5 separate regions of the Homo sapiens genome follow, and all the other regions are linked to region 5. Evidence: promoter capture Hi-C in human tissues and cell types (Jung and others, 2019). All regions are on one chromosome and are shown on one strand. The core of a region is centred on a gene start or on the middle of the fragment in contact, and the rest is flanking DNA. Distances in the headings are between cores, read along the strand shown. Region 1 overlaps CCBE1 (collagen and calcium binding EGF domains 1). Region 2 overlaps CCBE1 (collagen and calcium binding EGF domains 1). Region 3 overlaps CCBE1 (collagen and calcium binding EGF domains 1). Region 4 has its middle 82 kb from the start of CCBE1. Region 5 holds the start of CCBE1 (collagen and calcium binding EGF domains 1).

The links. Contacts are between HindIII fragments. The study calls those that stand out against the background at their distance.
Region 1: a contact is called between a fragment that was not itself captured here and the fragment with the promoter of CCBE1 in region 5, in 4 of the 25 tissues and cell types used here (adrenal gland, hippocampus, mesendoderm cells and 1 more).
Region 2: a fragment that was not itself captured here is called in contact with the fragment with the promoter of CCBE1 in region 5 in 3 of the 25 tissues and cell types used here (H1 embryonic stem cells, IMR-90 fibroblasts and lymphoblastoid cells).
Region 3: a fragment that was not itself captured here is called in contact with the fragment with the promoter of CCBE1 in region 5 in 2 of the 25 tissues and cell types used here (IMR-90 fibroblasts and lymphoblastoid cells).
Region 4: a contact is called between a fragment that was not itself captured here and the fragment with the promoter of CCBE1 in region 5, in 2 of the 25 tissues and cell types used here (H1 embryonic stem cells and IMR-90 fibroblasts).

Annotation. Positions count from the first base shown.
Region 1 is chr18:59,585,107-59,587,970 of GRCh38, forward strand. The region is part of intron 2 of CCBE1 (collagen and calcium binding EGF domains 1); the gene reads right to left. Among named protein-coding and RNA genes, the nearest start is that of CCBE1, 110 kb to the right of the region's middle. The HindIII fragment of the contact is 3,937 bases long and covers 1-2,864 here.
Region 2 is chr18:59,626,241-59,628,940 of GRCh38, forward strand. All of the region lies in intron 2 of CCBE1 (collagen and calcium binding EGF domains 1), which reads right to left. Among named protein-coding and RNA genes, the nearest start is that of CCBE1, 70 kb to the right of the region's middle. The HindIII fragment of the contact is 3,769 bases long and covers 1-2,700 here.
Region 3 is chr18:59,603,700-59,606,399 of GRCh38, forward strand. All of the region lies in intron 2 of CCBE1 (collagen and calcium binding EGF domains 1), which reads right to left. Among named protein-coding and RNA genes, the nearest start is that of CCBE1, 92 kb to the right of the region's middle. The HindIII fragment of the contact is 6,151 bases long and covers 1-2,700 here.
Region 4 is chr18:59,778,309-59,781,008 of GRCh38, forward strand. It overlaps the pseudogene GLUD1P4. Among named protein-coding and RNA genes, the nearest start is that of CCBE1, 82 kb to the left of the region's middle. The HindIII fragment of the contact is 3,410 bases long and covers 1-2,700 here.
Region 5 is chr18:59,695,830-59,698,697 of GRCh38, forward strand. CCBE1 (collagen and calcium binding EGF domains 1) reads right to left here and starts at 1,594. Exons shown (of 11, transcript NM_133459.4): 1 at 1,383-1,594; 2 at 800-880. The coding sequence starts at 1,513. The HindIII fragment of the contact is 11,314 bases long and covers 1-2,868 here.

The sequences.
Region 1 (2,864 bases), core at 298-2,797, 110 kb before region 5:
CAGCAGCCCGCCATGTTCCTTCCAGCCAAAAAGCCTTCAACATGTTCCCTCAATATGGAATAGCCCTGGCTCACCCTTCAGATCTCGTAAGTGTCATCTGTTACAGGCAACCCCTTCTGATGCCACCTCTACTCCCAAGGTACCCAGGTCTCTCTGTTACAAGCCCTCTTATCCCCCATGTAATCACCTTCATGGCACTTCAATGCTATCTGAAATCACAATGGCCATTTTACATTTTTGGCCATTTTACATTTATTTGGTGAACATCTGATTATTATCTGCCTCTCCACCAAGACTGCAGGCTCCTGAAAATAAGAATCCTGTTGGGCTATCACTGAATTCCCAAAATCAAGCTCAAGGTTTCACATGTCCCAGAAACTCAGAAAATAACTGGTGGATGAGTGAATATTCAATCAAATCCATTGGGATTTTCTGAGAACCACTTTCAGGTACCTCAAATTCTAGCTTCTCCAGTCAGAGGTGGAAAAGTGGCAAAATATCTTATTTTGTTAAGTATCAGCAAAACAACTTTTTAGCCATCATAAACCCAAGTGGAAGGAAAATTACAAAGAGATGCTGAAGATGCCTGGCACCCTGATCCACTCCTCATCCAGTATTGCATTCTTCATTGTGTGCATCATAGCCATACATTTTCATCAAGCTTGTACAAACAGCTTAATCCACACACATAGGCATTAATATCATTTAAAAATTGTCACTTAGTCAAAGTGGCATGTCCTATTTAAATAAGTTTAAGTTGCCTACATGTATTTCAACTACTATTTCTAAACCTGCTGCCATGATTTTAAGTGTCTAGCAATAAAATTTTAGATCAAAGGAGTAAACTTAGGGTTTGGAAAAATTTGCTACAAAGTTCAGATCAAAATGGAGGAAAATCTTTCTTTTTAGTAATAATATTGGCCTTTTAGTAATTTCACTTTTAATTTGATGCATGTAAAATACAGGTGACATATGTACATGTAAAATAGTACACGAAAACTAGTATCATGGACATGAGAAATGCTCAGCCTAACTTTAATGCTCCACTTTAGTCATAAGAGATTTCTCATGAGTTCAGTCCAATAAAGGACTCAAAGTTTTTAAAACAAAAGTCACATGATACTCCCTGGGAAGAAGAGGGAATGAGCCACTGGATTACCCTCTTCTTTCCATTTCAACCACAGGGAGGCTAGTAGCATGAAAATAGTGTGTGTATGTGGGTGGGAAGAATCAAATCTACACAAACACACTTGAGAAGAAGATAATCTCCATGTCTGGAAATAGAAAAACATAATGGTGAGTGGCTGAAATCCTCTGGCCCATGGGGAGTGGCCCCCACTGTGTTTAGCTTCAACAAGCATGCTTTGGGACACAACCAGAACTAAGCTCCCTGGAAGAAGTAATGAGCTAGGACCAGACCAATGTTAAAACTAAAATATCCCTTCATCAAACCCTAGATATGATCAGAAATGTAATACTCTCCTACGGCCAAGGAGGAAAGAACATCTGCGATGGGAAAGAAAAGTTGGCCAGCACTGCAAGGGAGCTCAGCATCCAGAATGGACCTCCTCTGCATGACAAAGCCCAAAATTTTCAACAAAAGTTTCAGACCCATTCAACACTGTGCACCCCTCATAGACAGGCTAGAGAAACCATGAAAACACATAAGATGATTTCACATAAAAATTATAAAAGCTTAATAGGAAATCCAGTAAGAAACACCTGAAAGGCACAACAGATGAGAATTCATGTGATGCAACCTGATAAAGCATTCTGCAAAGTACCTTAAAAACGTTCTTTATTCTTTGAGAAGGGATAGCAAACTTTCCATGAGTCTGGAGATCAGAAAAAACAGAGGGCAGATATGAAACAGAATGAAATGGAAACCGTGAACATGGAAATAAAATCTTTAAGTTATAAAAGAATAGATATTCATTTCGTTAGGAAGAAAAACTGGTGAACATGAAGGAAGAATTGAAGATGACTTCACTGGTAAGTTCTACCAATGTGCACAGAATATCTAACTCCACAGAAACTCTTTTGGAAAATTAAGATGTACTTCCCAAATTGCTTTATAAACCTTAAAGCCCAGTAACTATGAGAAAGGAAGCTAATCTCAGTCATGAATATCAATGTGAAAATCCTAAACAAAATGTTAACACTCCAAATCTAGCAACAAAGAATATATTGTGGTCAGCTTGGGTTTATTTCAGGAATGGAAGTGTAACACTGAAAACAATAAAAAGGACTTGTCACCTCAACAGACTGCAGAAGAAAAATCATAATCATCTCAACAGGTACCAAAAAGCATTTGCTAGCATTCAACAGTCATGTATGAAAAAACGTTTTACCAAACCAGGAATAGAAGAGATTTATTTTAATCCCGTTATATTAGTCAGGACAGAACATGTTATAGGAACTAACAGACTCCATTTTCAAGAGCTTAACATATAAAGTATATTTCTTGCTCATACACAGTCTGCTTATGGTCTATAGGCTTTTTGGAGTAGCTGTCTTCCAAGAAGCGACTCAGATCTAGGACGCATTTGTCTAATCTATCGCCACTCCTATTCAGCATTTTTCTGAAAGTCTCAGCTACTGAGTTAGGCAAGAAAAAGAAATATGAAAGAAAAATAAAATTTATCTTAATCACAGATAAGATTATAAAACAGAACCCAAAAGAATCTTGAAGTTAATTACTAACATAAGTTTAGCAAGTTTGCTAGATAAAAATTTATACTTGAAATCAATTGTACTTTTTGTAAAGAGGCAACAAATGAATTTTTGAAGATACTATTTTTGATAGCAAGGAGCCAGCAATAAGTTGGAGAAAAGAACTCTACAAAGAAAATATAAAGCTTTGC
Region 2 (2,700 bases), core at 70-2,569, 70 kb before region 5:
TACTCGTTTATTTATGGAACCCCACAGTAAATCCTTTGGTAAAGTAAACCACCTCGCAATGCATCTGTTTTGAAAGTCCAAGCTTTCCTTAAGGTGAAATGTCCCTTTACGTGCATTTTTCAGTATCCAGATAAATGTGGAAAAGGCAGCTGACATGGGGGTATTTTCAGGGGCAGGAGGGTGAGGAGATTATAAACATGACAGGAGCAATGAACACTTATCAGGCTTATGTAGCCCTGGCACTGATTCCACACTTCAATATGGAAAATACTCAAATACCACTTACTCTGTGCCAGGCACTGCTCTAAGAATTTCCCAAGTGTTAGCTCATTTACCTCATTTAATCTTAACAATGAGTATTAGCATCATCCTTATTTTACAGAGGAAGCAATTGAGGCCCAGAGAGGCTTATCACCTGGCCCAAGGCCATAAAGCTAGCAAGTGGTAAGGCCAAGACTGGCCTTGTGGCCCTCTGACTCCAGAATCCATTCTCATCTACTATGCTATGCCACCTCTATGGGAATTTACTTATCACATCCTCAAAGAGCCCTGTGAGATAAGAACAGTGTTCCCATTCTGCAGACAGGAAAATCAAGGCCTGGAGGGGTTAAGGGTTGAGCCCTTGATTCCACAGCAGAGCTTGGGTTTGGACTATCCTGGTCCTGAACTTGTGCTCTTAGTCACCATGTCTTCAGCCTCTCCACAAGCTTCCCAACTGTGCCCATGGTCTTGGGATTGTGTGTCCATCCTGTTGTAGAGATCAACTAGTTCATGTTGATTTAGTTGATGATCCTGTTCTAGAGCTCAGTTTCCTTATCACTACTCTTTTGAATACTCTTCATTTCATAAAAATATAAAACAATCCATCATTCATCAGTTCAGCAATTCATGGGGTATACTGTGAAGATACTGCAAATTCCAGTCACTCCCTCTCATGTTAATCCTGCTTAGTTTCCTAGTGATATATACACCATATTGTCCGTATTCTGAGTAATTATACAGAATATAATCTCATTTGAAATGTCAAAAATTAGAAGACAAAATTTGTGTAATGTAGTCTAAATTTTTACAAAAGGAGAAAGAAATATGAATTACTAAAACGATTTTAACTGAGTTATTTTGCCAAAGCAGTATACTTCCTTAGTTTATACCACCTTTTACACCTCATTCTTTTCTTTCAGTATCAGAGTGGATAATACTGTGTCCCCCAAAAAGACATATCCAAGTCCTACTTCCTGGTACCGGAGAAATAGGTGTTATTTCTTATTTGGAAATATGGTCTCTGCAGATGCCGTCAAGTTAAGATGAGGTCACACTGGCTTAGAGCGGGACCTAATCCAATGAATAGTGTCATAAGGAGGAAATCTGGACACTCATAGAAACCCAGAAAGAATTCCATGTGACAGAAGAGGCAGAGACTGGAGTGAGCAGCTGTAAGTCAAGGAACGCCAAAGCTTGTCAGCAACCCCCAGACGCTGGAAGCAGCAAGGATATGCTCCCCTAGTGCCTTCAGAGGAAACTTGGCCCCACAGACACCTTGATTCTGTCTTCTAACCTTCAGAACTATGAGGATACATTTCTGTTTTTTTAAGACACAATTTGTTGCCTTAAGTTTGTTACAGCAAACCTAGGAAGCTTATACAGGCATATTGAAAACCATACTCAAAGTGGATTTTTAAGTGCCAGATTCTGCCAGGTGCAGTGGCTCACGCCCACAATCCGGGTACTTTGGGAGGCCAAGGTGGGCAGATCGCTTGAGCCCAAGAGTTCAAGACCAGCCTGGGCAACATAACGACACCCCGTCTCTACAAAAAATACAAAAAATTATCCGAGTGTGGTGGTGCATGCCTGTAGTCCCAGCTACTCGGGAGGCTGAGGTGGGAGAATCACCTGAGCCTGGGGGCAAGCTGAGACTGCAGTGAATTTTGATCGTGCCACTGCACTCCAGCCTGGGCAACAGAGTGATATCCAGCCTCAAAAAAGAAATCCAGATTCAGACTTCCATCTTTTTGGATATTCTTTATTTTTAATTAGTAAATATTACACAAGGATCCACTAAGTGGAAGCTACTATTTTTCATTAAAAATAATAAGGAGAATATGCTTTTTCTTATATTGGATTCTCTTGGGACAAAATGGTATTTTTTCCTAACTTTTCTCTTCCAGTCTTACTGCCCCTACTCCAAGAGACATGAGGTGATGGAAAAAATCTATCTTAATGCTCTTCCAGCCTAAAGATGGCAGCTTTTTACCTGATCATGTCAATAGTCCAATTCATGCTCCAGACCAACAGGGCTGCCATGGACATTCCCTGTAACCACCGCGATGTCCATGGCTTCGTGGGATGGATGGGAGTCATAAGATATGACGGGATAGAACACGTTCCAAAACCTGGGATCAGGCCTTCTAATCTAACCTGAGACAATCAAGTAGCCTTGGGAAAGGGCTTCTTCATTCAAGTCAGCTCCTCACCCGAGGACCCAGACCTGTATGTCCAAGTGCCAGTCCTTCCTCTCAAGTGGAACAAAATCCATGCTGAACTACTGAGCTCCCCAAATCTGCTTTCTAGGCCACCAACCTGCCTAGCTATAACCAAAAACTCAGAGCCATCCTTGACTTCTGTCCTCACCCCAAATTAGCAAGTCCTATTAGTACCACTTTTAAAACACTCAAAATCCAACCATTTGTCACCTCTCCTCTG
Region 3 (2,700 bases), core at 37-2,536, 92 kb before region 5:
TCCCTTATCTTTCTATAAAGAGACACACCAATTTTATTTTAGGAGAAACAGTACCTCTTATCCTTTTTAAAATACTGGAGACCAGGCAAGTACATTAGAAGAGGAAGATACAAAGCAGCTAGGAAGGAGATCTGAGGAAGTGCCAAGTGTTGGAGGTGGACATCTGAAGCTCTGTCCTGACCTCCTCAGGCCGAAAGGTCCTCAACCTCTCGATGACTCTGTTTCCATATCCAAAAGGGATGCCTTTGTAGTGCTGTTGTAAAAATGAAGTGGGAAGCCTGACACAAAATACATGTGACCACTGATAGAATCTTCTACTTTTTTTAAAAAATGAGAAGTTGGAAAAGGTATCTGTTGTTTCTCTCTGGTACTTTATCTCCTCTTATGCAGGCAAATAAGGAAGGATCCAATGGAGAAAGTAGGCAGAAGAAACTGGAAAACTTATCTAAGGAGGGCCCCTCTTCACCCCATAAGAGCTTCGCTGACGGAGGGTCACATAAGGCCAAAACAGTTATGGAGAGAGCCAGGAAGCAGCATGCTACCCTCTTCATAGGTTCAAGACAAGACACAGAGGTTTGGCCAGTTGTCCAAGGGTGCAGAGCCTGTGCATGTGAAGCTGGAGTCTGATCCCAAGTCTGTCTGACTTCACACCTGAGTTCTTAACCATTAGGCTGCATCATCTTCCATTTTCACAGGGCTAGGGGTAGGAGGACACATAGAACAGAGATACCTATCCAGGAAAAAAAAGCAGATGAGGGTCTCAAACTGGCCCTCTCTATAGTCCATGTTACTGATCAGATATAATAAAGTCAAATTACTACTCCCTTGATATAAGCCAACATACTAAGTAAGTGGCTACAGTCACCTGTATTTAAAAGGAGAGCTGATCATCTACTTCTGTAACAGAAAAACGTGAATTAAACAAGCAGATATGGGAGATTTAGTAAAGAAGGAAATTTCCATGGTATGTGATTGCTTCAATAGGCATTTGTTTCAATGTCCAATTTGGACAACTCTTCAGATGGATAATTTTGAGATACATTAGACCAGGATGTCTGCTTCTCAAAACCTGAAATGTACACTGTCTAGTTTTGTTGGCTTAGCAGTAAATGTACTTTAATAAACAAATGCCAAGTCTCTTAAAATGTATCATTTGTTCTTGGTCAGCTATTGCTAAGATGCTTGATAGGTAGGGTCAAAATGGGGCAAGATGCCCATCTTATCCAGTGATCAGTAGGGGATCCGGCAGCTCCAGGCCCACCTCAAACTGGAGACGGGAGCTCAGTGTCCAGTCACTGCCACCTACACCGTGTTCATCATGCCTGAAGATTAAAGCAATGCCCTCATGAGAGCATGTTCTGGCCTGACTTGATTGCAAAGGCTGGGAAAAGTGCCCACAGAAGGAGTGTCATCTGTTACACAGGAGCTGGTGGTTCTGCCCTAACAGAGGCTGCTCCCCCTAGGAGGCACAGCAGGGAGAAATGGAGAAGGAAGGAGTCTGGCAGTGATATGAACTTTGATCTTTTTGATAAAACATCTTCTACAACATGTTTTAGGGAACAGCTAAAGTCTTTAAGAACACCAAAGCCGGATCTTTCCTCTATTTGCTGAAAGCCAGTCACAGCGATAACAAGAGGAAGATGACAAGTTTTATCCTTATAGAGAACAGGTGGGTCGATGGTTGGAATAAGGCATGAACTAGCTGGGGTGTAGCACAGAATAAAGGGGGCATCTCACCCTACCAGGAGAAGGGCTTTATGGCAGAGGCATCATGCCAAGTGAGCCTGAAAAAGAATGTGGTCCAGGTGGATAACTCTTAGGTTGGCCAGCATTCCCCACTGGTCAGCCATTCTGCATAATTACTAGGTGTTCCTGGATCATCTCTCATATGCTAAAGCTTTGCTGGAAAACCAGGGGAACTAAAGATGACAAGGAGCCTCTTTGACCTCTCAAAAGCCTAGATGGCTACCCACCTAGAGCTTGCAGGGACTCTGCCTCTCATTTCTCCCAAAGGAACATTTCTTGGTGGATGATAAAATACCTCATGTTCCCAGCAAACCCTCAGACTGAAACATAAGAAGTACTTGAGTTGTTGCCAGAGAAACGTTCCAGAGCCAAGTGGACGACTGCTAGGGGTGGCCTTGGGATAAGCTATCCTCCCTCTAGCAGTTTTTGGGAGGAAAAGGTGAAGGTGGAAGTGAGCTGCTCCACTGGGGGAAATGCCTGAGCTAGGCCTCAGTTAGAAATCTACCAAGAGAAATCGCGATGCTCGAATGTCCGAACTGTAGATTTCTGCCTGAAGCACGTCACTGCTCTCAAGCAACCACGATGATCTCAACGCCTATGGTGCTTTGCGATTCAACTCCCATTTACCCCAAAGTTTAATGATTGTCAAAACAAGTCATGTTTTCTTAGTAATAACACGCTTAATTCTTAACTGTCCATTCATTGTTTCGGAAAAATGCTTCGGACAAAGGCAGAGATCACATTTGTGTATGTTTTGCATACTCCATGAGAGACCTTAGAGGCATTAGAACTCCCACAGATTGGTTTTTTACTTCCTTAGGATGGAATTCCTCAGATGTGACAGAAGGACACAGTGACCCTTTCAGGGAAAGCAGCGAGGCATCTGGGACAAAGACAATGTCCACATGGCAAACCGCAAAGCACATGCTTGAAATCCTGGCTTTCTATGCACTT
Region 4 (2,700 bases), core at 75-2,574, 82 kb after region 5:
CAAATCATACCTTGAGTCACTGGTGTCCTTGGCTAGGACAGTTTTGGTGGCGTATTGAGTGCAAAGCCCAGTGTGTGTGGGTTCAGGAAAGAATGGAAGGAGGAAAAGTGAAAACAGTGCGTATGAACAACTGTTTCAAGAAGGTTTCTTAATGGAAAAAAAAATGAGAGAAGTTGGCAGAGGCAGGAGGCAAAGTGAGGTCCAGAGACGGAGTTTTTAAGATGGGAGAACTAGGAGTGTGTGTGACAGGGAGGAAATGAAGTCAGGAGCATTATGGTTATTCCAGATCTCTACATGAATGCCAAAGGAGAGACAGCATCCAACTTTGAGTGGCTGAAGAATCTAAATCATGTCAGCTATGGCTGTTTGACCTTCAAATATGAAAGGGAGTGTAACTACCACTTGCTAATATCTGTTCAAGAGAATTTAGCAAGAAAATTTGGAAAGCACAGTGGAACTATTCTCATTATACCCACAGCAGAGTTCCAAGACAGGATATCAGGTGCATCAGAGAAAGACACCATGCATGCTGACTTGGTGTACGCAATGGAGAGTTCTGCCAGGCAAATTTTGTGCATAGCCATGAGGTATAACCTGGGATTGGACATGAGGACCACCGTCTATGTCAACGCCATTGAGAAAGTGTTCAAAGTATACAATGAAGCCAGAGTGACCTTCACGTAGATGGCTCATGGGTGACTTCCTTGCTACCCTCTTCACCTGTAACTTCTGCAGACCTACCACAGGTTTACATGTTACCACAGAAATCCCCTTCTCTCTTGACTCATTAGATAATGGACACTATTCTTAACAAATCGATCCAAATCAGCTCCCTAAGAAGAAAGTAATTAAGGTTAGGGGATCATGTACACTCTGATGACGGTGAAAGTAGAAATCACTGACACCAGAGAGAGAGACATGTAGGTGTGTTGCCTCTAAATGAAAAGTCTCTTCCATCTGGCTGTGCAGCCTTGCTCTGTGGCTCTTCCCAACACAGTCAGCAACTGTTGCCAGGGAAGGCACAGTCAAGAGCAATCAGATGCTTACTTCTTTGCTCTGGACGAGACTGGGAAGTGCTGTAACTTTTCACATATTCAGAAGGTGACATGGGGGCCGGGCGCAGTGACTCACGCCTGTAATCCCAGCACTTTGGGAGGCCGAGGCGGGCGGATCATAAGGTCAGGAGATTGAGACCATCCTGGCTAACAAGGTGAAACCCCATCTGTACTTAAAAAACAAAAAATTAGCCGGGCGTGTGGCGGGTGCCTGTAGTCCCAGCTACTCGGGGAGGCTGAGGCAGGAGAATTCCCAGAACCTGGGAGGCGGAGCTTGCAGTGAGCCGAGATCGCGCCACTGCACTCCAGCCTGGGCGACAGAGCAAGACTCCGTCTCAAAAAAAAAAAAGAAGGTGGCATGGTCCTCACATGAGTTATTGAAGCAAAATAACTCAATTTTACAGGATGCAAACAAAAATAAAAGCTGTTTCTGCTTATTAATTTTATTCTTCTGGAAAAAAATAAGTAATGCTGCTGTAATAAAATTGCTTTTAATCTCTTAACAAGCCTAACCTTGATTCAAGCAGTGAATGCCTACAAACATAATAAATTTAAAAAGCTAGTATTTTTATATCATAAAACAGTACCATTTAGAGCTTATCAGCCATGTATTGTTATCCAGCAAAAATAAGAAGCCCTATGGAGAATTAAATTATCTTCATACCTACAAAAATGCTGGAGGGCTATTTCTGTGAAGACGGTCGGAGTTTGCTGACTATAATTATGACACATAGTCCAAAGAATGCAGTAACCTCCTTATCATGTTAACAAATTGTTCTCTTTTGAAGGTCTATGGTTGACTAATTGAACAATAATTCAAATAGAATGTTCCAGAAAAAAAAAAAAAAAGTGGGTTCCCTGTTTGGAGATTGGCTGGCCCTGAACATCCCTTGCTAATGGCCTCTACTCAGCCTGACTTTGTGTCCTCTTCTTTTAGAGGCTTTGCATTCTGCACCCAGGTGCACAAACAGTGGGTTGAAAACAACCTTGGGTTGAATGTTTTGTTTGGGAATTATTTGGCCAGGTCCTTTTGAACAGTAGTGTCCCAGTCAAATGCTAAATAATAATATATGCAAAAATGAGCTTAAAAAAAACCTGTAATGCCCTTTCAGAATTCTAACTACTTTGTAACTGCATGACTTAACCTGGTAATAAAAGCAGTTATTAAAAGTCTACCTTACAAAAAAAATCTTCTCATCTCTGTAAATCAACAGGGATGGAAAACAAACCTATACTGCCACCCAAAAGACAAAAGAATTTAGAGTTTAGTAAAAGCGGCATTTTAAATGGGGAAAAGGTACATTATTGAATGAATGATGTCAGAACAATTCAGCACATGAGAAATAAAGTGACAACACTACAAATTCCAGACTGATCAAATATTTAAGTTGAAAAGCTTATCCAAGAAAGTACTCCAATAAACTACACAATAGTTTTGTTTTACAACCTCAGAAAAGGAAAGTCCTTTCTAAGCATAACAGGAAAACCTAAACTATAACAACATTTTGTGGCCAGGTGCGGTGGCTCACGCCTGTAATCCCAGCACTTTGGGAGGCTGAGGCTGGTGGATCATGAGGTCAAGAGATCAAGAACATCCTGGCCAACATGCTGAAACCCTGTCTCTACGAAAAATACAAAAAAAATT
Region 5 (2,868 bases), core at 344-2,843:
AACGCAGATATCCAATAAACGTTTATGGGTGCATGTTCCCCTATCCAGTGAGAGCACTGGAACAGAACCAAGAATTCAATGGTGAAAAACCTAAATCAACCCTCATCTCCAAAAGGCTGCAAGCAGAACAGTGGTTCTCTCCTTTCAGAGACAAGAACCACCTGGGGAACATTTTATAACTACCGATTCCCTAGCCCCATCCACGCTTAGTTTTAACAAGCACCCGGGTCACTCATTTAACAAATACCCAGGTGAATCTGTGGCCCACATTTTTAGAAAGACTTTTTTCCTCTGCCCCAACAATCTTTTTGTTTTCACTCAACACAACCACTCACAATCCTCCCCCTACTTTTTTGTCCAGAGGCCGTGACAGCCACACTCTGCCCCAACAGAAGGTCAGAAGACAGACAAGTGCCAAGAATTGCCTTGTTGACGCTGTACTTTCAAAACAAAACACAAATACGAAAGCAGCCACCCGTGTTTGCTATGCCCCACTGTTTACACCCAAAATCCAATCCAATCTCCTTCACAGACTTCCACACAAGTATTTCAGGGAGCGGCAACCATCCTCAGGATCTCAGGGCACACACCCTAGACGCAAAGTCAGTTGCTCAGTGTTGCTCTGACTCCGATCCAACCAACCCTCAAAGATTCGCACCGCGCGGCACGCACCCAGCAGGTTCCAGCGTAAAAGCTGCTCCGGTCCCAAGCGCGTCTCCAAACCCCTCCTTTACAGCGCCGCCTCCCCAGCCAGCCCCGGTGCGCAGTGGCGAACAGCCCGCAGAGCCCCCAGGCTTACCTGTAGCATGTGGTGAGCTCGCCTGAAGACTTCAGACACGGGTATTTAGTCGTCGCGATTTTGCTCTCTGAGCAGATTTCTCTATGAAAAAGTGCAGAGGAAATGTTCGATTCTCAGCGGGAGAGCGGAGGCGGGCAGCGCGCGCTGGGGAATCCCTGGCGCGTGGGGATCGCCAGGCTCCCCGTCCCGGCGCTCTGGGCAGGGGCTGGTCCCCAAACGCGTACGCGGGGCAGACTCCGGCCACAGGGACGAGCCACGCGAGGGTCACGACGAAGCGAACCAGCTCCAGGAGAAAGGAAGCGGGGTTCACGAGCTGTGCCAGCCAGTGTGGCACCCGGGGGGAGGCAGGAACGCGGGGCGAAGGGTATCCCTGACGCGACCCACGGATGGCAGGGCGCAAAGGCTGATACCCGGGAGCGGAGGGAAGTGTCGCCCAGGACAGCTGAGCACTCTCCTTATCCCCGGAGAAGTGAGGGCGTGCGGATCGCTGTGGGAGTGGGCGCCGGGGAGGACCGCCCGCACCCCGCGAGCCGGGCGCGCATCAAGCAGGAGCTCGCCCTCCGCTGGGGCTTGCAGCGCTTACCTGTCGCCGTCCTCCGGCTCCTCTCTGTAGGTCCACGTGTGTCCCAACGCCAGGAGCAGCAGCAGCGGACCCAGGCTCCTGCCCAGCTGGCCCCTGGCAGCTCCTCCCCGGCTCGGAGGCGGCGGCACCATCAGGGAAGCTCCCGGCTTCTTCCCAGCGCCGAGCTCCGTCCGGACCAAGCGTCCTGCTCCTCCGCGGCCGCCGCCGCCTTCCCTCTTCCCGGCAGGGGGCGCCGGAGAGCAGGGGCGTTTGCACCACCTGCACGGGGAGCAGGGGTCCGGAATATTATGGGGCTGGGGGGAAAATGAGGCTAGGAGTTGGGGTATCGGATGCAAACCCAGCAGAGAAGCAGGTAAAGGGGGTACCTGCGGTGTCCGGCTGGCGCGAGGGCCCTGAGGTTCAAGTTGTCTCGTCGGGACGTTCACGTCCGATTGACAGACTTGCTGGACTCGGCTTGGGGCTGCGCCCTCGCCTCTTCCCTCTCCCTCCTCTGGGAGAAGCGCGCAGGGTGGGGAAAGCGGGCGGTTGTTTGCATTTTGCACCAGGGTCTCACGACCGGGAGGAGGAGGAGCTGATTCTCCACCGGGGAGAAGAGGGAGGGGGAAGAGAGGGGTTAATAAGCTTCCTTCCTGTTGTCCATGGGTTTCTAAAGCCCAGGGTCAGGCCAGTGTTCGTCTTTCCTCCGTGAGGACCTACCCTGAGATTTGCAACTATCTTAGTCTTCTTTTCTCTTAGATTATGTGAGGAAGGAGGAGTTGAAAGGCTACAACGGGCCTCTCAAATTGTTCAAACCTGAAATAGCGCTATTTATATAGTGTAATCACTCTTCCTTAAAACCTTTAGAAGAAAGTTCTCTGGTTGTTTCATTGGTCAATAAACCATGCGCTGTCTTCTTCATAACTCGAGTTCGGAACAAGTAAGGAGGTCTTTCTGGGAGCCTTACATCTCCTTGTCCTGAGCGGCTTTAATACTGTTTCCACGCCGCGCACATCAGAGCTGGAAACGCCCCCCCCCATCAAATGAGACACGTGGGGGCAAATTAATTACAGGTGCTGCTACCTGCTAGTGTATGCAGCCGCGTTGATAGGTAACAAGAAAACGGAGGAGGGGGGCCGTAAATCGGCTCCCTTGACGGTGACCCTAATTGTAATTCGTGTGTCAGCAACTTAACACTTTGTTGCGCTTTAGGAGTTTTCTCAGCCTTTTCCAGAGAAACTGGGGACGTGGATGTGGCCCAGAAATAAGTTGAAAAAGGAAAAGTTCTAATGCCTAAGCTCTAAAATATGCGTGGTTCTGCATCTCACAGGACAACGAGGTAAAAAGGTGGCTTGTTCACAAGTGACCGGTGTGTAAATTGGTTAGGTAAGCACATATTTTGATATACAGAATATGCTGGTCAACTGAGAATTACCACACATATCACATACACATTGACTTTTTTTTTTTTTTGAGACGGAGTCTCACTCTGTCGCCCAGGCTGGAGTGC